Regions from separate parts of the Homo sapiens genome. Here regions 1, 3, 4, 5 and 6 are each linked to region 2. The links are contacts of gene promoters, found by promoter capture Hi-C in blood cells and fetal thymus (Javierre and others, 2016). All regions are on one chromosome and are shown on one strand. The core of a region is centred on a gene start or on the middle of the fragment in contact, and the rest is flanking DNA. Distances in the headings are between cores, read along the strand shown. Region 1 overlaps NAE1 (NEDD8 activating enzyme E1 subunit 1). Region 2 holds the start of CMTM4 (CKLF like MARVEL transmembrane domain containing 4). Region 3 holds the start of PDP2 (pyruvate dehydrogenase phosphatase catalytic subunit 2). Region 4 overlaps TK2 (thymidine kinase 2). Region 5 overlaps CKLF (chemokine like factor). Region 6 overlaps BEAN1 (brain expressed associated with NEDD4 1).

Region 1 (3,547 bases), core at 48-2,547, 130 kb after region 2:
AAATGCTGGGATTACAGGTGTGAGCCACCGTGCCCAGCCCTATTTCATTTATTCTTAAATTATGTTAGATGTGCCAGGTGCAGTGGCTCACACCTGTAATCCCAACACTTTGGGAGGCCAAGGCAGGCGGATCACGAGGTCAGGAGATCGAGACCATCGTGACTAACATGGTGAAACCCTGTCTCTACTAAAAAATACAAAAAATTAGCTGGGCGTGGTGGCAGGCGCCTGTAGTCCCACCTACTCGGAGGCTGAGGCAGAAGAATGGCGTGAACCCAGGAGGCGGAGCTTGAAGTGAGCCGAGATTGCGCCACTGCACTCCAGCCTGGGCGACAGAGCGAGACTCCGTCTCAAAAAAAAAAAAAATTATATTAGATGCATTTAAGTTAAGTTAGATGCATTTAAGATCTCGACATAGGGCTTATTACTGTGACTTCTGCAAAAGCTTTACCAAGAAAACTGAATTATCATCTGAAAAGCCTCACATCAACTTCTACAGGAGTGCTTTAAAGTATATTACCCAATGAACATTCTAATAGAGTGATTAATGTGCCTTCCCTGTTACCTGATTTAAAGCAGATTACCCCTTATTATGTAGTCAGTATGTCCTCCAGAGCATGTCAAGCAACTGCCTTGTTTTTTGTTTTTGTTTTTGATACAGGGTCTTACTATGTTATCCAGACTGGTCTTGAACTCCTGGGTTCAAGCATTTCTCTCGCCTCAGCCTCTAGAGTTGCTGGGACTACAGGCACAAGCCACTGTACCTGGCTTCATTTGTTTTTGTTTGCTGAGCATCCATCTTTCCACTCCACTGTATGCTCCATAAGGGCCCAGACAGCTGTCAAATGTATGGAGGAATCGCCTAGAAGAACCAGATGGACCGTAAACGCCTGTTTTCTCCATCAAAGTATGGCACGTAGAAGACACCTGACATATATGGTTGATGGATGCTTAGATAGTTGGAGAGTAAATTTAAGAATACTGGTGCATCTTGGCTGGGCGCAGTGGCTCACGCCTGTAATCCCAGCACTTTGGGAGGCGGAGGCAGGCAGATCACCTGAGGTCAGGAGTTTGAGACCAGGCTGGCCAACATAGTGAAACCCCGTCTCTACTAAAAATACAAAAATTAACCAGGCACAGTGGCACGCACCTATAATCCCAGCTACTAGGGAGGCTGAGGCATGAGAATCGCATGAACGCAGGAGGCGGAGATTGCAGTGAGCCAAGACCGCGCCACTGCACTCCAGCCTGCGCAACACAGTGAGACTCCGTCTCAAAAAAAAAAAAAAAAAAATACTGGTGCATCTCAAGCAGGGTGAGATAGTGTGTGTGCCTGTAGTCCCAGCTGCTTGGGAGACTGAGGCAGGAGGATCACTCCAGCCCAGGAGATCAAGGCTGTGGTGTGCCAATAATCATACCTGCGAACAGCCACTGCACTCCAGCCTGGGTAACATACTGAGACCCACCTCAAAAATAAAACAAAAAGAATACTGAGGCCAGGCACTGTGGCTCATGCCTGTAATCCTAGCACTTTGGGAGGCTGAGGCAGGAGGATCACTTGAGTGCAGAGGTACGAGACCAGCCTGGGCAAACCCCCATCTCTAAAACAGTTAGCTAAGCATGGTGGCACATGCCTGTAGTCCCAGCTACTCAAGAGGCTGAGGCAGGAGGATCGTTAGAGCCCAGGAAGTTGAGGCTGCAGTGAGCAGTGTTCTTGCCACTGCACTCTAGCCACTGCACTCTAGCCTGGGTCACAAAGTGAGACCTTGTCCCTGAAAAAAAAAAAAAAAAGAATCCTGGTGTGTCTCTAAGTAACATGTTTCAAGAATAGGCCAAATGAATCAGTCCTCTCTACTATCTTGCTGGCCCAACTAACGTGAAGTAAGGAGGGGCTTATTGACTGCTGCATTTTGCTTCTAACTGCTTCCCTTTGACACTTCAAAACCAGTTCTCACTATGAAAGTAAAGTTTGGGACTTAAATGGAATGCCCTCAGCAAAAACCCTCTTTTGTTAGAGTTGCTTAGTAACCTCAACTATCTTCTCAGCTCTGTCATGTACAGTTATACCTGCATTAGAAACACAAGAACTCCAAGAATTTACAAGAAAACCTAAGTTGGTTATAAGGACTGTTACCCTGTTTCTTCTCCGAAAAGCTTGGAAGCAGGATGTAACTGAGTACCTCCGAAAAAGCCAGAAGAGCCTTAGTTTACATCCTGGCTCAAAGATATGGGGAACTCTGGGCAAATTACCTAACTTCTCCAAGACTCTGTTTCTCCAACTGTAAAGCACAGGAAATGGTTGCTTTCAAGGGTACTCTCAGAACTAAGTGCCTAAAGCCTCTACTACAGCACTAGGCTGGTGGCGCAAACAGAAGCTCCAGTCCTTGGGGACATATAACTTCTGTTGTCTCAGAGGCTCCAGGAAGGAGGAAAGCTGAGCAGCTTTGTTATCTCCACAGCCTCAAGACACAGAAGACGCTCAATAAATAAGGAATGGGTAGTGCAAGGAGAAAAGGCAAGGGTGGGGAAGTACCCAAGGACCCTCCTGATGGCTTAGGCCTGCACTGTCCATTAAGGTAGCTGCTAGCCACATGTACTACTGAGCACAAGCAATGAGGCTAGTGTTAACTGAGATGTGCTGGTAAGTGTAAAATACAATATTTATACGATAGTTTTGGGGGGGCTTTTTTGACGGAGTCTCGCTCTGTCACCCAGGCTGGAGTGCAGTGGCACGATCTCGGCTCCCTGAAACCTACACCTCCTGGATTCAACCGATTCTCCAGCCTCAGCCTCCAGAGTAACTGGGATTACAGGCGCGCACCACCACGCCCAGCTAATTTCTGAATTTTTAAATAGAAACAGGGTTTCACCATGTTGCCCAGGCTGGTCTCGAACTCCTGACCTCAGGTGATCCGCCCGCTTCGGCCTCCCAAAGTGCTGGGATTACAGGCGTGAGCCACCGTGCCGGTCCTCCAAGACAGTTTTAAAAAGGAAAATACTCATGACCAGCTTGGGGAAAGGTGGCAAAAACCTCGTTTCTACAAAAACAAAAATAAAAATAAAAATAAAAATTTAAGTAAAATATCTCAAGAACTTTTTATATTGTGTTGAAATAGTAATGTTTTGGACATATTGGGTTAAATTGTATTTAAAAATCAATTTCATCTGTTTCATTTTACCTTTAGTGTGGTTACTAGAAAATTTATAATTACATTTGCGGCTCACATGAGACTAGCATTTTATTTCCATTGGACAGCGCTGGCTGAGAACAAAACCTAACCCTCTGTGCCGCCCTCGCGGCCGGGATGCGGTGCGCCCCGGGCCTCCCCATTCGGAAAACGAGGAGCCTGGGCGCAACGGGGCCGGCAGCCGCCTTAGCTACCCGGCTGGCGCTGGGGACCCCGTCCCCCGAACTGCACACCGCGTGGCGGGGGAAGGGGTCCCAGCCCTCGCGGAGCACCTTTGGCCCAGGGCGGGAGCTCCGAGCGCCGGCTTCCCGCGCCCCGCACGGCCCGGCCCAGCCTGGAAGAAGGCCTGAGGAAGGCCC
Region 2 (3,791 bases), core at 758-3,257:
GCAATTGCACACCTCCCTTCACCTCCTACATTCTCTTTGCTAACAGCAACGCCAAACTAAAAACCAATGCATCTTTGAAAACATTCCAGTTTACCAGATAAGGTAAATTTAAAATTCTGAAGACAGATTATCTGATCCATTTTTCTTTCCATAAAGCCCTTCAAAAATACCCTCTGGCAGTCAGCAGAACAAGCCTTTCACCCAAGAGAGACATAAAATAGCCTATGATTCTGTCATTTACAAACGCCAGGACATTTATTTAAAGGGTATCCACACATTATATTATTCCCAAGGAATGCTTATGCACTCAAGTAGGAAAAGGAGGACCAGGCCTGGCACGGTGGCTCATGCCTGTAATCCCAGCACTTTGGGAAACCAAGGAGGGGTGATCGCTTGAGCCCAGTAGTTGGAGACCAGTCTGGGCAACATGGTGAAACCCCATCTCTACTAAAAATACAAAAATTAACCCGGCATGGTGGAACGTGCTTGTAGTCCCAGCTACTCGGGAAGCTGAGGTGAGAAGATCGCTTGAGCCTGGGAGGTCGAACCTGCAGTGAGCCACGATCGCACCAGTGCACTCCACCCTGGGCGACAGAGACCCGGTCTCAAAAAAGAGAGAGAGAGAGAACAAGAACAAGTGGCTTCTCTGGCTATGAGAAGTCTATAAAGTTTTGAGGCCGGTGGCCTCAGAAGGCCTACCTGTGACAGAGAATGTTGGGGGGACACACGGGTTTTTCTGAATTAGAGCATGCCCACAACAGAGCTAAGCAATTGCCCGCAGAGGCATGTTACAAAACCACAAAGCAGGAACAGAGCTGAGAGGCCCCTGCCCAGAACACCCTGGAAGCTAAAACACAGGACCCTGAGAAATGAGCTCTACTACAGACAAGTCCAACAGAAAGTTCTCTGTTTCTGCTACCTCCAAAACTGGCTGCCCTCCCAGATTTAACTCTGGGTACCAATTGGGCAGTGCCAGCCACCGTGCTGGGCGGTGGATTCCGGGATGCCAAGTCTGTCTTCTTGGTTAGAAGGACACAAACCTCTGCAGTGTAGAGAATTGTGGGCATATCTGGGCTCCTCCACTGCATCAGGGCTACCTGCCTCCATCCAGCAAATACTTACTAAGCGCCTACCATATACGCCTGGCACCCAGCTAGACATCAAGTGGGAACCAAACCACAGTCCCTCGTCTCCGCAGGCAGAAACAGGCACCGTCCGGAGGTTGCGCGGGCCGGGAAAACCTGCCACAGGTTGCTAAGACCAGCTGTACCCAGGAGACAGCAGGATTCCCAGCAGCACCCAGCCCAGTAACGCCACAGACTCCCGGGAGCGAGGGCGGAGCGGACAGGTAGGCCCGAAGGCAGGTGCTCAGGTAGGAGGCGCACACCTGAGGCTGCCGGCCTGGGAAGGGCAGGCTCTGGCCGAAGGCGGGGTCCCCAGAGAAGGCTGCAGAGTGGTCCCGGGACCCCACGAGGGAGAGGGGGCGCGAGGAGCGGGCTCCGGCCTGGGCAAGCGGGTACGCGGCGGAGGCCCCGCAGCGGGGCGGGGAGGGAGGCGTGCGGCTAGGCCGCCCTCGGGCACCTGGGGCCCCGCCCGGCACCTACCACTTGGGCGACCTTGAGGCGGCCGAGCGCGCCGCGCAGGTAGTCGGGGTCGCAGCGCAGGCCGGCCAGCCCGCGGCGCTGGCTCACCGGCTCGGTGGTGGGCTGGTACGGGCTGCTGGCGCCCGAGATCATGGAGGTGCTCGAGGCCTCGCCCTCGAAGCCGTCCAGCTCCTCGCCGCTCCGCATGCTGCCGCCCGGCCCGGGCCGCCTCGCGCGGCTGGCTCCCGGCGCCAGGAGCGGGCGGACTCAGCGGGGCCGCCGCATCGCCGCCGCCGCCGCCGCCGCCGCCGCCCGACTGACTGCCCGCGGCCCGCCCGCCGCCGCCGCCTCTCGCCCGCCGCCCGGCTGCGGCTGCGGCTCGGTCCGCTCGGGCTCGGCTCCCGCCGCCTCGGCAGCGGAAAGGGAGGGAGGTGGGAGCCAGGAGAGGGAAGGAGGCGGGAGCGGGCGCGCCGGGCCGGGAGAGGCGGAGCCAGGCCGCAGCCGGCCGCTCGGAGGCGCTCCGCGGCTCGAGCGAGGTGGAGGCGGCGGCGCCGCGGGCCTCGGGGAGGGGCGGGGCGAGGCGGGGCGCCGGCTCCTCAGGCCCCGCCCTGGCCCCGCCCCCACCTGCGCCTAGAGCCGGGGCGGGAGCCGCTGGTGGGCGCTGGCGATCCCGGCACGCGGGGCGATGGGGTTCAGGCAGCGGGGTCTTGGGGCTGAGGAAAGGGTCGAGGTGGACCTGGAGGCCATGGAGTTGCTTTCCCAGACGCTGCCTCAGGTTCTCCTTTGAAGAAAGTGGGGTCCTCGACGCATAGGGTGGGGAGCTTCTCGGTAAAGACAGAGACGGGCTGCGCCACCCGGGTGCCGGGAACGGTGCGTGGCCAGGGTGGGCTTGACTCAGACTATTGGGCCGACGAGAGGTGGGTAAGTGCCTGTGTTCTCACGCTGGGCGCCTGGAACAAACCGGTTCCGAGGCCAGGGGCGGGCGGGGCAGGGTGAGGAGCCGCCCCACTGCAGGTTGTCCCCGCCGGCCTGACCCAGGCGACTGACATGTTCCTCTCCTCTCAGCTGAAAAGCTTTGCTAGCTCTGTCTACGCATAAAGTAAGGTTAAACACAGATTTTGCCCCGAAGGGCATTAATTAGGGACCAATTTACAATTCAAGTGTGAAGGCTAATTTTAAGCTAAGTAAAACACTGACTAAGAAGTGTCGCTTTGATATTGAACCCTTCCACAACCACAAATACCGAGAGCTTGCCATGTTCTAGGCACTGAGCAAGGCGCTTGAAGAACGTATCGTTGTTATTTCTATTTTACAGAAGAAGAGACTAAGGCTGCAGACTGGAAGTAGCTTGTCCAAGGTCACACAGTTCATTGGTGGGCAGAGCCCAGGTTCCTACTTTTTCTTTTTTTAAAAAAAAGTTATTTATTATTTTCATCATCATTATTTTTGTAGAGATAGGGCCTCACTGTGTTGCCCAGGCTGATCTCGAACTCCCGGGCTCAGGGGATCCTCCTGCCTCAGCCTCCCAAATTGCTGGGATTACAGGTGTGACTGACCATGCCCAGCCCTCAACTTTTTCAAAGATAGGAAGGACAGTGACTCTAATACTGTTGTCCTTCTGTATGGGGGCAAGAGAGGGAGCTTGTTTTCAGGACCCCCTCAAATACCAAAATCTGAAGATGCTCTCAAATCCTTTATATAAAATGGTGTAGTATTTACATATAACCTACACACATCTTCTCGTATACTTTAAATAATTGTTCTACTGTATTACTTTTTATCTATATTTTTGTGTGTGCGTGTGTGTGTTGTTTGGGGGTTTTTTGTGTGTGTGTTTTCTGAGACAGAGTCTTGCTCATCACCCAGGCTGGAGCGCTGTGGTGAGATCTCTGCTTACAGCAACCTCCACCTCAAGCGATTCTCCCACCTCAGCCTCCCGAGCAGCTGGGACCACCACGCCCAGCTAATTTTGGCATTTTTAGTAGAGACAGGGTTTCACCATGTTGGCCAGGCAGATCTCAAACTACTGGCCTCAAGTGATCTACCCACCTCAGCCTCCCAAAGGGCTGGGATTACAGATGTGAGCCACCGTGCCCCACCTGTTTTTCTGTTTTGTTTTGTTTTGTTTGTTTTTAAAATAGACTTTTCACTCTGTCATCCAGGCTGGAGTACAGTGGTACAATCATAGCTCACTGTAACCTCGACCCC
Region 3 (3,834 bases), core at 1,157-3,656, 180 kb after region 2:
CCTTGAAATGAAAGTTCCAATGCACATAAAATCCTCCAGGGTGCATTTTTACTTTGGAAGTGGGTGTGTGTGGTAACTTAGAAAAACTCAGTGGTTTCAGGCTTGGTGGAATGATGTAATTTTTCTCAGGAAAGTGGCGGGGGCCGCCATCTGTGTGTCTCAGCAGTCAGCCCAGGGCCTGACACATTGTGGGCACCCATAACACCTGCAGATTGAATAATTAAACACTGCTGCCTCTGTCCGGAAGGGTAACCCGTTGTGACCCTATATGACCTGTCTGCTGGGGGGAGGGAAGAAGTGTGCTTTTGCATTCTCTTGCACTCATTTATTAGAAACCCTTAGACTTTTTTTTAGTTTGGGTCTGAAACAGTCCTCTTAATATGCAGGAAGAGAGATATTGCCAGTCCTGACTTTGAACTTCTGGAAAGGGCTAAGGGTGAGTGGAACTATAAATATACAAGGGCAAGTCTGACATGAGCAGTTTTATTGTGACCACGTCCTTGGGTCCAGGAGGCTGGCCAGGCTGCCCAGGTAAGCCAGGGTGTCTTCCTTCTGGAAAACCACACTCTCAGGGCTCCAAGTGGCTTTTTCTGGTTGTCTCCCATTTTTCTCTGTCTCCAGGGAAGGACTCCATCTGACTTACCATAGTTACAAGAGTTCTGTGAAAATAATTTATAAGGAAGCAGGTCATCACTGGAATGCCACAATGTTAGGACCAGAAGGGACGGAGGGATTATCTGGTGTCGGGGTTCGCTGTCTCTCTCAACCTACCAGCCGCCAGCCGTGCTGAGTTAATTGTCAGTAGCAGGCCAATATAATGGTCAGTTCAAAGCTTAATGGTTTGTGGGAAACCACTAAAGACTTTAGGGCAGGAGGCCGGGCGCGGTGGCTCACGCCTGTAATCCCAGCACTTTGGGAGGCGGAGGCGGGCGGATCACGAGGTCAGGAGATCGAGACCATCCCGGCTAAAACGGTGAAACCCCGTCTCTACTAAAAATACAAAAAATTAGCCGGGCGTAGTGGCGGGCGCCTGTAGTCCCAGCTACTTGGGAGGCTGAGGCAGGGGAATGGCGTGAACCCGGGAGGCGGAGCTTGCAGTGAGCCGAGATCCCGCCACTGCACTCCAGCCTGGGCGACAGAGCGAGACTCCGTCTCAAAAAAAAAAAAAAAAAAAAAAAAAAAAGACTTTAGGGCAGGAATTTGAGGGTTTTTTTGGTTTGTTTTTGTTTCTGTTTTTGTTTTTTTTGAGACAGACTCTCACTCTGTCTCCCAGGCTGGCGTGCAGTGGCATGATCTCACCTCAGTGCAACTTCCACCTCCCTGGTTCAAATGATTCTCATGCCTCAGCCTCCCAGGTAGCTGGGACTACAGGCGCGCACCACCACTCCCAGCTAATTTTTGTATTTTTAGTAGAGACGGTTTCGTGATGTTGGCCAGGCTGGTCTCAAACTCCTGACCTCAGGAGATCCCCCCGCCTCGGCCTCCCAAAGTGCTGGGATTACAGGCAGGAGCCACCGCACTCGGCCTTGGAATTTGAGTTTTAGAAGTGTCATTCTGCCAGGCGTGATGGCTCACGTCTGTAATCCCAGCACTTTGGGGAGGCTGAGGTGGGAGGATTGCTTGAGCCCGGCAGTTTGAGACCAGCCTGGGCAACATAGAAAGACCTTGTCTCTACCCACCAACCACGAGAAAAGGTGGGAGGGGCGTCATTCTGGCTGCTCTGCTCTGTGGTTAGGACCAAGTCAAAGGTGGAGGAGGGAAAACCGTAAAATCAAGTGAGAGGCTTGGAATAGGGTGGCTGCGTCGCCGGATGGATGAGTGGAGAGAGATTTAGGAGATAGGATTTACAGCATTAGATAACTGGAAAGAGAGGGTGAGGGAGAGGAAGGAGTCAAGATGCCTCCCAGGGTTTTGGCTTGGGTCTCTGGGCAGATGGTGGGGCCATTACTGGGTTAGGAGAGAAGAGAAAAAGCAAGTTTGGCAGAAAGCTGAGTTTGGGGTAAGTTATGTTTGAGGCGCCTGGGGGCCTCCAGAGGCAGGTGTCCAGGTGGCTGGACATCAGGGTGTGGCGCTCAAGAGAGGGTTCTGGAGTGGTCGACACCGAAGTGGAGAGGAAGCAGTGAGGTGTTCTAACAACGGTGAGGAATTGGGGAGGCCGCTGGGTTCGGGGTATGCAGAGTGTAGCGGCCACGTAGCTGGCGATCTCAGGCACGTGACTGCCTGGTCCTGTGGCCCCGCGCTCGAACACTTTCAGCACCCAGGCAGGGGGTAAGGGGCGGTGTTGCCCCCTCCCGGGTCCCGCCTTTCTGCCCGCCTCTCATCCTCTTTAGCCATTGGGCAATACCTCTGTCCATCAAGGGCCCGCCTCCGCAATTGAGCCAACCAGGGCTGGCGGGAGGGCGCTTCCTTCTGGAGCTGGGTCCTGACTAGGGACCGCCTGGGTGAGGTGAGGACCTGGTGGCCGCAGTTGTGGCACTGTGCGCAGGCGCTGAACTGACCGGACGGAGCGGGCGGCTGTGGCCTCGCCAGCTGGTGAGAAGCGGGCGAGGGTCCGAGGTAGGGAAGGTAACGAGCGGGGGATGTGGACACCTCTTTCCCCGCCAGGCCTCGCCGGCGCCTGACCCTCCCGGCCTGCGGCACCGGCTCAGGTGACTGGGCGGAGGGAGAGCTGAGGTGAGGGGGCGGGTCCGCGGCGGAGAGGGACCAGCTGGGCCTACGACCACGGTCACCCCACTCACGTGCGCGCGCCACGTGGGCCCGCGGGCTCGCCGAGGACCCTTGGCTGCCTACCGGGGCACCCCACTAGCTGCTCTGGCCTATCGAGCACCCCTTGGAGCTCTGTGTCCCGACTGCACGCCCCTGTTTTACAGGCTGGCAAGCCGGGGCTCAGAGGCACCAAGCGGGTCGCCCGGGGGCACCCAGCTGGGGTACGGCCGTGCCGGGGTTCTAGGGAGATCGGTTTTGGTGGGCTCCGGAGTCCATGCACTTAGCGATGAGGCTGAAGTCAGAGATTTGAACTTGGGACCTGTCTGTTTTCTTTAAGGATGCAAGAGGGTTTGCGTCCTGGCTGCGGTGTATCACCCTGCACCGCTGCCTGCCTTGACTGCAGGGCCGGAGCGTCAGGCGCCCTCTGCTCCCGGACAGACCGCCCCCGCACCGACTTCTGCGGGGTGGGCTGGCAGGGGGTGGGGGAGTGAAGGGACGGTCCTCAGTCCTGGGAACTCTTGAGGTCCCGACAAATGATCTCGAGATCCCGAGGGCAGGATTCATACATGAAAAGCTCATTATAATGGGTCAAGGTTTTGTTCTGTTTTTTTTTTTTTAATTTAATTTAATTTAATTTAATTTAATTTAATTTATTATATTCCAAGGAAAAGTACCACCAGGGCTAGTGAAGGGACTAGGAAACTCGTCACCCCCTTGAGGAGGCAGATGTGAAGCTTTTGGAAATCAGTTTGGCAATGAGTCTACACCCTTGGACCTACTGACTCCTTGTTTGGGAAATAACTAGGATAAAACCTAAGTAGAGAAAAGGTTACTGCATAAAGCAGTACAGTTTGGTGGGGTTTTGTTGTTGTTGTTGTTTTTAAAGAGACAGATCTGGCTCTGTCGCCCAGGCTGGAGTGCAGTGGTGTGATCATAGCTCACTGCAGTCTTGAAATCTTGGGCTCAAGCGATCCTCCCACCTCAGCCTCTTGAGTAGCTGGGACTACAGGCACTTACCACCATGCCCAGCTAATCTAAAAATTTTTGTAGAGATGGGGCACTTGCTGTATCACCCAGGGTGGTCTTAAACTCCCTAGCCTCAAGTGATCCTCTTGCCTTGGCCTCCCA
Region 4 (3,670 bases), core at 1,133-3,632, 150 kb before region 2:
AGTTTCACTCTTGTTGCCCAGGCTGGAGCACAGTGGCGTGATCTCAGCTCACTGCAACCTCCACCTCCTGGGTTCAAGCCATTCTCCTGCCTCAGCCTCCCGAGTAGCTGGGATTACAGGTGCCCACCACCACACCCGGCTAATTTTTTGTATTTTTAGTAGAGACATGGTTTCACCATGTAGGCCAGGCTGGTCTCAAACTCCCGACCTCAGGTGATCCACCCGCCTCAGCCTCCCAAAGTGCTGGGATTACAGGCGTGAGCCACTGCACCCGGCCAAGCCTCAGTAACTTTTAAAGCTCTCCAGGCGATTTCAATGTGCAGGCAAGGATGGGAACCACGAGGCTGGAGCAGAGCTTCTCCCTGTCTAGTCCACAGATGCCTGCTTCAGATGCACCAGAGGAGCTGGTTAAACATGAGGTGGCACCAGGTAGCATCCAGACCCTAAATCAGACTCTAGGCTGGAGCCCTTGAACCTGTAGCCCAGTGATTCTGACCAAGCTCTGCTCAGCCAGGCACTGCTGATGACATAGGCCCAGTGGCTCTGGCTCCAGCAGATGGCCACAGGGAACGGGCAGCTCCAATACATAAGACAAACTGTCCCCTGAGAACACATTAGACATCCTCCAGGGGCACACACAGAGAGGGGCCCGACCTGCTGCACAGAGGCCTGTTCCTTTGCACTCAGGCTGGAAGCACCCAGAGAAACCTGGGCAACACAGGTAACTTACCCAAGTGCCAGACTTGGCTAGGGAAGAATCAGAATTAGAATTCACATCCAGGCCCCTTCTCACGACTCCTGATGGAGCCTCAGTCACACCTCACATAAACACCAGGTCACAGTGGGCCGTCTCACCCGACCCCACTAAAGTCTCCCCAGCAACTAGAACTCTGTCAGCTGGCGGAGAAGGTTCCTCCTGCCTTGATCCTAACGGGTATCCAGGAGACACAAGGCCACTCTCCCATCCTGGGTCCCTCCCAGCCCACTCCTTTAGAGCCCCAAACTACAAAATGAACCCAAGGGAATGAACAAAAGGGCATGAAAAGACCCCATTAGGGCACTAATGGATTTAATTTTTTTATTGCTCTTTAAAGAAAACTTTTCCTCTTCCTAGATATATAAAAAGAGCTCAACCTAGACATCACTCTACAGTCTTTTTTCTTTCCTGTTCATTGAAGCATTTTAACAGGTTGTTCAGATAAGCCCTTCTCCCAGAAACTTGTTCCTATCCCCAGCATGAAATCCTGAAGAGCTGGTGAATGTCAGGCCCTGAATGAGCTCAGCCAATCTGCCCTCCGGTTTACAGCAGGCAACGCAGGAAGAATCTCACAAAGTTCCCCTGAAATGGAAGGGGGAACAGGAAGCAAGCAAAGGGAGTCTTTACATTTCTTTTTAAAGTGATGTCTAAAAATATTATAAGAGAAGTGCATGCCCATTGAAGAAAATACAGAAAATCAAAAAGGAGAAACTATCACCCATAATCCCAATACTAAGAGATAAACCCCATGACATATGAGCATATTTCATGCCAAATATTATTTTCTATACAGTCCTCATCTTTGAGCACGTTTCAACTGTTTATTGAAGGCCTATGCTGTGCCAGGCACTGTGTACTCAGGGCCTCGTTGCAACGGCCAAAGAGCTCATGAGTGTGTGGAGGAAAGCAACAGGAAACTGTGAAAAGGAGATGGTCCCCATGCTGTGGGAGCACATGGCCGGCCTGGCCCAACACTCTGTGATTACGCTACAATTTATCTCCATTTTCCTCTGCTATGAGCCCTTGAGTCCAATTTTCCATGATTATAACTGAAACTGTGATGAGCCATCTATCCCTATTATAAGTAACAATATTTAATCTTTCCTAAAAATGGAAATTAAGCATTCTTGTGCTAAGAAATACATTCTCAGTGGCCAGGCGCAGTGGCTCACGCCTGTAATCCCAGCATTTTGGGAGGCCGAGGCAGGGGATCATTTGAGGTCAGGAGATCAAGACCAGCCTGGCCAACATGGTGAAACCCCGTCTCTACTAAAAATACAAAAATTAGCCAGGCGTGGTGGCGGATGCCTGTAATCCCAGCTACTGGGGAGGCTGATGCAAGAGAATCGCTTGAGCTTGGGAGCTGAGAGGTGGAGGTTGTGGTGAGCCGAGATCACACCACTGCACTCCAGTCTGGGTGACAGAGTGAGACCCTGTCTTCAAAAAAAAAAAAAAAAAGAAATACATTCTCACACACAAGAATGTATGTATGCATGAATATATGTATATGTTTATGAATATGCATATATGTATTTATCAGTTGGATTTCTCTGATCAAACCTTATTACACAATCCCTAAAAGAAGAAAATAAAAATCACTCGTAAATCTCAGCAATCATTGTCATTTGGATGTTTAATTAGAACCCAGGGTTCCAGAGGCAAACTGGCTTGGGTGCCAAAGCCTCCACAGGGAGAATCCAAATATCCTGTCTTATCAAAGACCCTGAGAAATCTGCAGTCAAAAGAAACTTGCCCAAACGTCTAACAACTGGCAAGTGGATAAACAAAGTGCACTACAGCCACGCCATGAATACTATTCAGCTATAGGAAAAAATGACATACTAATACGTGCTACAAGGCAGATGCATGTCAAAATATTATGCTAAGCAACCAGGAGCGGTGGCTCACGCCTGTAATCCCAGCACTTTGGGAGGCCTAGACAGGCGGATCACCTGAGGTTAGGAGTTCGAGACCAGCCTGGCTAACGTGGTGAAACCCCGACTCTACTAAAAATACAAAAATTAGCTGCACGTGGTGGCACATGACTGTAATCCCAGCTACTTGGGAGGCTGAGGCAGGAAAATGGCTTGAACCCTGGCGGCGGAGGTTGCAGTGAGCCAAGATCATGCCATTGCACTCCAGCCTGGGCAACAGAGAGAAACTCCATCTCAAAAAAGAAAAAAAAAAAATGTGCTAAGTGAAAGAAGCCAGATACAAAAGATCCCACGCTATATGTTCCATTTTATATGGAACGTCCAGAAAACACAAATCCCTAAAGAGACAGGAAGTAGATTAGTGGTCACCTGGGGCCAGAAGAGATTGCAAATGGGCACAAGGTTTCTTTTTGGAGTAATGGAAATGTTATAAAATTAGATTGCACAGCCTGGGCAACATGTAGAAATCCCATCTCTACAACAAATACAAAAATTAGCCAGGAATGGTGGTATGTGCCTGTAGTCCCAGCTACTTGGGAGGCTGATGTGGGAGGATCACCTGAGACCAGGAAGTCAAGGCTGCAGTAAGTTGTGATTGTGCCACTGTCCTCCAGCCTGGACAACAGAGCCAGACCTTGTCTCAAAAAATAAAAAATAAAAATAAAATAAAATAAAATTAGATTGTAGTGGTGTTTACTCTGTAGTGCTGTTTACTCTGTAAATTTACTAAAAATCATTGAATTGCACATTTAAATGGGTGAATTTTGTGGTATGCAAATTACAATAAAGCTGTTTTAAAAAGGAACCCAGCTGAATTTCATTTAACATTCAAATAACTAAGGGAAGACACTTTTACCCCATCACACCACAAACTCTCTCTTACATGCTCCTTGTTAACCCCACATCTATCTCTTAACTAGACTGAGAATTTCGGCATTAATGTTTATAATATTTCTTTCCTGTTTGTTTCCTAAGGACA
Region 5 (3,929 bases), core at 707-3,206, 130 kb before region 2:
CAAGGCTGGTCTTGAACTCCCAAAGTGTTGGGATTACAGACATGCACCACAGCGCCCAGCATTAATTGCATTTAGTAACTTAAAGTTTGATATACAATGTAGACTACTCTGCATTTTCTTACGTTATTAAAAATGAGCATTTTTACTTCCCATGGCACCCCTTCTACCTTAAACTTTCTACATAATACATCATCTACTTTATTTCCTAATCAGATGAGTTTTCCCTTCAACTACATTTATGTTAAGTAAAAAAGAAATAAAAAGCTTTTTAAGTAAATGATTGGCATATCACAGGTAAAAGAAAACCACTAGGTGTCATTATAGACCAGATACTATCTAGGTATCATTTTACTGTGACATTTTGGTTTCCTGAAAGATAGATGCTAAATAAATTTGTTTAATAAAATGAAACTTTCAAAATATTTAGGAAGCTGACTCCTTTTGTTGCAACAGAGTCTCACTCTGTTGCCCAGGCTGTAGTGCAGTGGCATGATCTCAGTTCACTGTAACCTCTGCCTCCCGGGTTCAAGCAATTTTTGTGCCTCAGCCTCCCGAGTAGCTGGGATTACAGGCATGCACCACCATGTCTGGCTAATTTTTGTTTTTTTTAGTAGAGACGGGGTTTCACCATGTCGGCCAGGCTGGTCTCAAACTCCAGGCTTCAAGTGATCTGTCTGCCTTCCAAAGTGCTGGGATTACAGGCGGGAGCCAGTGCATTCTGCCTGCTGACTTTGTTTTTTGTTGTTGTTGTTTTTTTGTTTTTTGTTTTTCCTTTTTAGCATTGCTTGGTAGTCTTCATGTAAGGCTCAGCTTTATTGTGTGTTTTTAGGATATTATCAACTCACTGGTAACAACAGTATTCATGCTCATCGTATCTGTGTTGGCACTGATACCAGAAACCACAACATTGACAGTTGGTGGAGGGGTAAGTGGAAGTCTTTCTGCTTGCTTTCTTCAGGTTTTATCAGAATGCAAATTTACTTGGAAAACAGATGTAAGAATAGAAAGCTATACTATATTCATCCTTGAGATTCCTAGGCCAATATACAATGCCTAGTGGCTTAATATTTTTGTCTGTGAATGCTTGCCCTGATTAACATGAAGGAGTATGATTTTATACTAGAAGCAGAATTAACCCAATAAAGGGGTTCCTACAGATTTCTTATAGGTACGTAGGGCTAGACTAGACTGACAAAAGCTACTGGAATCAGTTACAGCACTTAGCTCTGAGAAACCTGATGTCAAGCAAAACAAAACAAAAGGATGGATGAGTTTCATAGCTCTCCCTTTTACAGAAAAGGATACATACCATTTGTTAAGATGAGACAGACTGTTTTGAGCTCAGTTATTTCTTGTTCAGATCCTTCAGATAGAATATAATAGATGATGTCCTTACGGTAAGAGAACATTGGCAGGGCACCTTGCAACTAAAGGATCATTTTGAACCCGGCTTGAAGAGAAGCAGATCAATTCCATCAGACCTCATCCTAGAAAGCAAGCCAGAATATGACTCAAGTAATTTAGTTATAGTTCTATCTGATATTCTTCTAAGATTTCTCATACAAGGTTCAAAATCATTTAGCTTTTCTAGGTTCTGACCTAGAGAATTGAATTAGAAAGTTCTTAAATAAATCTTCCTACTTCCATGTTCTTTCATAGTATGGGTCACTTAGGAGAACTCTCAGCCATATATGTCAGAAGCCATGATTTTCATCTCCCTTAGGCCCTGAGCAACTTCATGAGGAGTCAGAATTATTCTAGAAATGAGATAGCTCTGTATCAATTTCCCCCAGTTGTTTTTGAAGATAATACTCATCTTTCTACTGTGAAGAAGGAAGGACCAGGCATAGGATTTACTTTCATTCACTTTTTTACTCATTCATTCATTTACTCATTTCTTAAGTGTACTTTGGCAGGGGCTGACAAAATATAGAGCTGTGCTATTCAGTATAGTAACCATAGTTGCTAGCCACATGGGGCTACTGAGCACTGGAAATGTGGCTAGTCTGAATCAAGATCAGCTGTAAGTATAAAAATACACATTTAATTTCAAAGATTTATTACCCCCAACAAGGAATGTAGAATATTTTGTTAATAACTTTGTTGATTACATGTTAAATGATAATATTTTAGACATACTGAGCTAAATATATTAAAATCTATGACTTATTTTTTTCTTTTTTTTTTTTTTCTGAGACAGAGTCTGTCTCTGTCGCCCAGGCTGGTGGAGTGCAGTGGTGCTATCTCAGCTCACTGCAAGCTCTGCCTCCCGGGTTCACGCCATTCTCCTGCCTCAGCCTCCCAAGTAGCTGGGACTACAGGCATCCGCCACCATGCCTGGCTAATTTTTTGTATTTTTAGTAGAGACGGAGTTTCACCGTGTTAACAAGGATGGTCTCGATCTTCCGACGTCGTGATCCGCCTGCCTCGGTCTCCCAAAGTGCTGGGATTACAGGCGTGAGCCACCGCGCCCGGCCGACTTTTTTCTTTACATTTATAATGTGGCTGTTAAAAAATCTTTAATTATGTGGCTGTGTTACACTGGTGACTCATATTATGCTGCTTTCAGACAGCACTGACTAGAGTGTGAGCCCCGTCCTCAAGTTGCTTAGAGCTTAACACAGGAGACACAAGTGGAAACCGCTGTATATAAGCTGTTGACAGGGAGCTGCATGGTGCAGAAAAGAGGAAACTACCTCTCTGGCAGTGGAATTGCTGTTTGCTGAGAATAAAGGAAAAAAAATGGAAAAGGTTCCAGGTAGAGGAGCCAATAGTGTACAGAGTGCCAGTCATGAAAAGATTGGTAGGAGGTATTCAGTGTGGTCAGAACCTAGGAGGCAGTGGCTTGAGACTCTGGGTGGAAAAGGAGACTGTGAGAGCCATGTCTGGAGCCAGGAAGCCAAACTTCCTGATGACTGGAAGAAGCTGACCAAACAGCATGCAAGGAATGACATCCCCCTCTCCCACCCCAGGCACCAGCTCTCAGATAGCCATCAGAGTGTCTGAAGGCCCCCACGTGTTCTTAGTTATTGTTTTTATCTAATTTTACTTTCTTAAGGTCTATTTAGAATCTCACCCTTTAAGCAGATGTAGCCTAGCCTTTGAGAGTTCACTTTGGATCATCTTATTAACTCCAGTTTTCTGGAGCTACAGTCCCCATGATTTAATATTGAGCTGGTGTTAACTTTGACCTTTTCTTCTGTAGAGTTTGTCAGTAGAGAAGTCAGAGTTGAACACTGGGGTTAGAAATATTAATAACTAAATATCCTCAGTAGGGCTTAAAAGAATACATGCAAGAGCAGGTCAAGAGATAAAAGCAAACAAGTATGGATTTCAGAGCCCACACTGCTTTATTATTTTTCTGCTCACTTAAATTATCTTTTCTCTTTCTATAGGCAAGTATTTAGAAAACTTAGCAATGAGGAGAATAAGATGATCTCTGAAGTCTCTCCATGTTAGTATTAGATGAAGCACAGGGAGCAATCCGAGTACCCTAGCAAGAGAGGAATCTGGTGGGCAGACCACTTAAAACTTGTGTGAATGACAGGAGTGGGGACCATGGTTAGGGCAGTGACACTTGTCTTTCTTTCCAGGTGTTTGCACTTGTGACAGCAGTATGCTGTCTTGCCGACGGGGCCCTTATTTACCGGAAGCTTCTGTTCAATCCCAGCGGTCCTTACCAGAAAAAGCCTGTGCATGAAAAAAAAGAAGTTTTGTAATTTTATATTACTTTTTAGTTTGATACTAAGTATTAAACATATTTCTGTATTCTTCCACATATTTTCTGCAGTTATTTTAACTCAGTATAGGAGCTAGAGGAAGAGATTTCCGAAGTCTGCACCCCGCGCAGAGCACTACTGTAACTTCCAAGGGAGCGCTGGGAGCAGCGGGATCGGGTTTTCCGGCACCCGGGCCTGGGTGGCAGGGAA
Region 6 (3,626 bases), core at 488-2,987, 240 kb before region 2:
GCTTGAGCATAGGAGTTCAAGGCGGCAGTGAGCTATGATTGTGCCACTGTACTCCAGGCTCCAGCCTGGGTGACAGAGCAAGAAGACCCTGTCTCAAAAATCAAAAAAGAAAGAAAGAAAGAAAAGAAAAAGAAAAAATCTTTGCAGGATGAGAAGTATTCAAGGGACACCTACACTGAAGCATAGGTGAGCAGAGGTATCAAAAGCACTGATAATATGAGTCATCATTAAAAGACAGTCTAGGTAAATATCACACATTTCCATTCAGCAGCTGCTGTGGCTTGCATATTTTGAACTGAAAAGGAATCCTGTGGGGGCTTTTCACTTATCACTTATTTGAAGAAAGGCTGTTTTAGGCCCCCTCATTGAACACAAGGCCTAGGTTTCAAAATTAGTTTTCCAGTATCATCACCAGACATATTATACTCTGTTAATACTGTTTGACACTGAACTGCTGTAATTGATGGTGCAACTACCTCTTGTGCATCCAGCAAAGAACAAACCTATTAGAGTGAAAAGCTAATCATGAAAAAATGGATGATTCCATAAAGACGTGAAGAAGGAACTCTTTTGTCTCGGGATCTATTAACCACTCCCAGGCACCAGTACAGACAGATCCCTCCATGAGAAACATTCTCCAGTGTCCTGGGGCAGGTTGCAAATGATGAATATATTTAGAGAATCTTCTTTCAAAATCTTTCACTTGTTCCAGCCATGACCTTGACCTTGACCCTGGATGCCTCAGTCCCTGTGCAGGCCCTCAGCCCTCCACCACTTTGCAACCCAAACTCCAACCAAAGTTTTTTTATTTTAATATAGTCCAATGTATCCATTTTTAAATGGTTAGTATCTTCTGTGTCCTGTTTAAGAAATGCAAGGTCATGAAGATGTTCTCTGATGTTTTCCACTTCAAGCTTTACTCTTTTGTCTTTCACATTTAGTTCTGAGTCTAGGGAATGTCTTTAAATTTTGAATATTTGATTGTCATGTATTGGGCACCTATTATGAGCCAGGCATCCTGCTAGGCAGTTTGCTTTGATTAGCTCATAGCCGAAATTGCTGCTCCCATTTTACAGATGAGGCAATAGAGGCTTAGAGATCTGACTTGCTCAGTGGGCACTGCCAGCAAGAGGCAGTGCCAGGACTTGAACCCAGGATTGTCTGTGTCTTATTTAACCAGAGTTCTGTCCTAGTCCAAGAAGCAGGTCAGCTCCAGCAAAGGAACTCGGGACTTTGGCTGCCCAAGGAAGGTGGCTGAAGGATGATCCTTTTCCAGAGACCCTAGAGCTGCTTACCTTCTCAGGATACTAAACGTTGGTGAACACAAGGCCTGGGACTGGGACTGGTTTGATTCTCAAAATAGCTCAGGCCTGCAAAGCAATCTGATGGGGAGTGGGGGATAAAGAACTTCTCCCCAAATGCCCCATAATGTTTTTTGGAATCCACATGCCATGAACCTCATGCTGGGAAACTACTCCAAAGCTCCATGGTTTAGTGTGATGTTGGCAGTCAGTTGAGATCATCAGGATCTATCATGGCAAAGAGGTAACTGTCTTTTCCTATTCTACTGGTTTCTCTCGTCCTGCCTACTGAAGTAACATACTATGCTAATAGATTTCCTGATCTTAAATCATCCTTGCATTTCTGGAATAAGCCCTAGTATACTAATTTTAATACACTGCTACCCTGATGCTGGTTTTCCAAATGCCCTTGTAAATTCTGGGAAATGAAGGAATCTCTGAGGATCAGAGGACAAAATCCTATCACCTTTAATGTGCTCCAGAATCGAAAACCACAGGGCCATGCCTTTTGTAGGCCTCTGGCTTTGGGCCTGGGCAGCATGGTGAACAGTGAAGGAGCCATAATTGCTGTCCCACCAGAAAGGCCTAAAGGAGTTGGCAAAAGCATGCCCATCCAGTGTGACATTTACAGAGGTCAGGTGGCACCAGAATCCCTCATGGGTGTTTGGCGAAGGGATCTGTGGGGAGACCAGGAATCTGAGTGCGTTGTCAGGTGAGTGTTTATTGGGGAAATTTCTAGACGCTTTTTGCAGGACAGACATTCCAGAGTGTAGAGAAAAGGAGGATGGGGTTTAGAGATGGTTTGCTTCATAGCTGGGTTTCCCAATCCTCATGGCACCTCACGTGGCAGACTCACTTACCCCAATGCCCAACTGTACGGCCCCAGAGTAACGAAGGGACACACAGCTCCCCAGGATGGAGAGAGGATATCATATTATTCCCTGGTCTATGGAGTCAGAACCAGGTTCAAATCCTGTCTCCCTCCCCCCAACTAAAAATTGTCTTTGCGATCTTGGGCAAGTCACTTCACCTTCCTGAGCCTCAGTACCCTCATCTATTAAATCAGATTACTAGCACCTACCTCATAAAGCTGCTAAGATTTGTAAATTTTATCTTTTCAAAAAAACAACTTTTGGTTTCATTGATATTCTGTGTTGCTTTTCTGTTTTCTAGTTCGTTGATTTCTGCTCTCATCTTTATTATTTCCTTCCTCTACTTGCTTTGGGTTTTGTTTACTCTTTTTCTAGTTTCTTAACATGAAAGCTTAGGTTTTCAAGTCGAGGCCTTTCTTCTTTTCCTTTCTTCTTTTCTAATATAAGTATTTAAAGCTATGAATTTCCCACTAAGCATTGCTTTAGCTGAATTCCATAAATTTTGATACTATGTTGTGTTTTTTTTCATTCTGTTATACACACACACACACACACACACACACATTGTTTTGTTTTCTGAAGACAAAGGCTTCAAAAGGCTGGAGTGCAGTGGTGCAATCATAGCTCACTGTAACCTTGAACTCCTGGGCTCAAGCAGTCCTCCCACTTCAGCCTCCCAAGTAGCTGGGACTATAGGCATGCACCACCATACCCGGCTAACTTTTTATTATTTTTTTGTATATACAGGATCTCACTATGTTGCCCAAGCTGGTGTCAAACTCCTGGGCTAAGGCAATCCTCCCACCTTGACCTCCCAAAGTGTTGGGATTACAGGCATGAGCCACAGTGCCTAGCCTAAAATATATTTTTATTTTTATTGTGATTTCTTCTTTGACCTATAGATTATTTAGAAGCATGTAGTTTAATTTTTTTTTTTTGGGTCAGGGGGACAGAGTCTTGCTCTGTTGCCCAGGCTGGAGTGCAGTGGCACAATCTCAGCTCATTGCAACCTCTGTCTTCCAGGTTCAAATGATTCTCCTGCCTCAACCTCCCAAGTAGCTGGGATTACAAGCACATGCCACCACACCTGGCTAATTTTTGTATTTTTAGTAGAGACAGGGTTTTGCCATGTTGGCCAGGGTGGTCTCAAACTCCTGACCTCAAATGATCCTCCTGCCTCAGCCTCCCAAAGTGCTGGGATTCCAGGCGTGAGCCCACCACGCCCGGCCTAATTTCTAAGTAGTTGGGGTTTTCCCGGATAGTTTTCTATTTTGGATCTCTAATTCCATTGTGGTCAGAGAACATATTTTGTATGATTTAAATCTTTTTAAATCTATTGAGACTTGTTTTATGGCCCATATGTGGTCTATCCTGGAGAATGTCTCATGTGCACTTGAAAAGAATGCGTAATCTTCAGTTGGTGAAGGCTTCTATGAATGTCACACTGGTTGAT

The links. The method cuts DNA at HindIII sites, captures the fragments that hold promoters and counts their contacts. A CHiCAGO score of 5 or more calls a contact.
Region 1: a contact is called between a fragment that was not itself captured here and the fragment with the promoter of CMTM4 in region 2, in 2 of 17 cell types (endothelial precursors and M1 macrophages). The highest score is 5.8, in endothelial precursors.
Region 3: a contact is called between the fragment with the promoter of PDP2 here and the fragment with the promoter of CMTM4 in region 2, in 2 of 17 cell types (erythroblasts and endothelial precursors). The highest score is 5.5, in erythroblasts.
Region 4: a fragment that was not itself captured here is called in contact with the fragment with the promoter of CMTM4 in region 2 in 1 of 17 cell types (naive CD4 T cells); the score reaches 5.2 in naive CD4 T cells.
Region 5: a contact is called between a fragment that was not itself captured here and the fragment with the promoter of CMTM4 in region 2, in 4 of 17 cell types (naive CD8 T cells, non-activated CD4 T cells, naive CD4 T cells and 1 more). The highest score is 6.9, in naive CD8 T cells.
Region 6: a fragment that was not itself captured here is called in contact with the fragment with the promoter of CMTM4 in region 2 in 11 of 17 cell types (total B cells, naive B cells, naive CD8 T cells and 8 more); the score reaches 11.0 in total B cells.

The regions. Positions count from the first base shown.
Region 1 is chr16:66,827,216-66,830,762 of GRCh38, forward strand. All of the region lies in intron 1 of NAE1 (NEDD8 activating enzyme E1 subunit 1), which reads right to left. Among named protein-coding and RNA genes, the nearest start is that of NAE1, 2.0 kb to the right of the region's middle. RefSeq lists silencers at 3,236-3,445, 3,456-3,515, 3,497-3,547 and an enhancer at 3,485-3,547. The HindIII fragment of the contact is 1,709 bases long and covers 444-2,152 here.
Region 2 is chr16:66,694,736-66,698,526 of GRCh38, forward strand. CMTM4 (CKLF like MARVEL transmembrane domain containing 4) reads right to left here and starts at 2,008. Exons shown (of 4, transcript NM_181521.3): 1 at 1,605-2,008. The coding sequence starts at 1,790. RefSeq lists an enhancer at 1,211-2,050 and silencers at 1,521-1,810, 1,901-2,240, 2,481-2,540, 2,571-2,650. The HindIII fragment of the contact is 10,204 bases long and covers 1-2,654 here.
Region 3 is chr16:66,878,109-66,881,942 of GRCh38, forward strand. PDP2 (pyruvate dehydrogenase phosphatase catalytic subunit 2) reads left to right here and starts at 2,407. Exons shown (of 2, transcript NM_020786.4): 1 at 2,407-2,532. RefSeq lists enhancers at 2,121-2,200, 2,449-3,221 and a silencer at 2,681-2,860. The HindIII fragment of the contact is 2,608 bases long and covers 831-3,438 here.
Region 4 is chr16:66,542,897-66,546,566 of GRCh38, forward strand. The region is part of intron 2 of TK2 (thymidine kinase 2); the gene reads right to left. Among named protein-coding and RNA genes, the nearest start is that of TK2, 5.4 kb to the right of the region's middle. The HindIII fragment of the contact is 6,883 bases long and covers 1-3,670 here.
Region 5 is chr16:66,562,293-66,566,221 of GRCh38, forward strand. It overlaps CKLF (chemokine like factor), which reads left to right. Exons shown (of 4, transcript NM_016951.4): 3 at 830-925; 4 at 3,594-3,776. The coding sequence ends at 3,719. All of the region lies in intron 2 of CKLF-CMTM1 (CKLF-CMTM1 readthrough), which reads left to right. Among named protein-coding and RNA genes, the nearest start is that of CMTM1, 2.2 kb to the right of the region's middle. The HindIII fragment of the contact is 3,389 bases long and covers 263-3,651 here.
Region 6 is chr16:66,450,633-66,454,258 of GRCh38, forward strand. The region is part of intron 2 of BEAN1 (brain expressed associated with NEDD4 1); the gene reads left to right. It also overlaps the pseudogene LOC107984807. Among named protein-coding and RNA genes, the nearest start is that of BEAN1-AS1, 24 kb to the right of the region's middle. The HindIII fragment of the contact is 1,650 bases long and covers 913-2,562 here.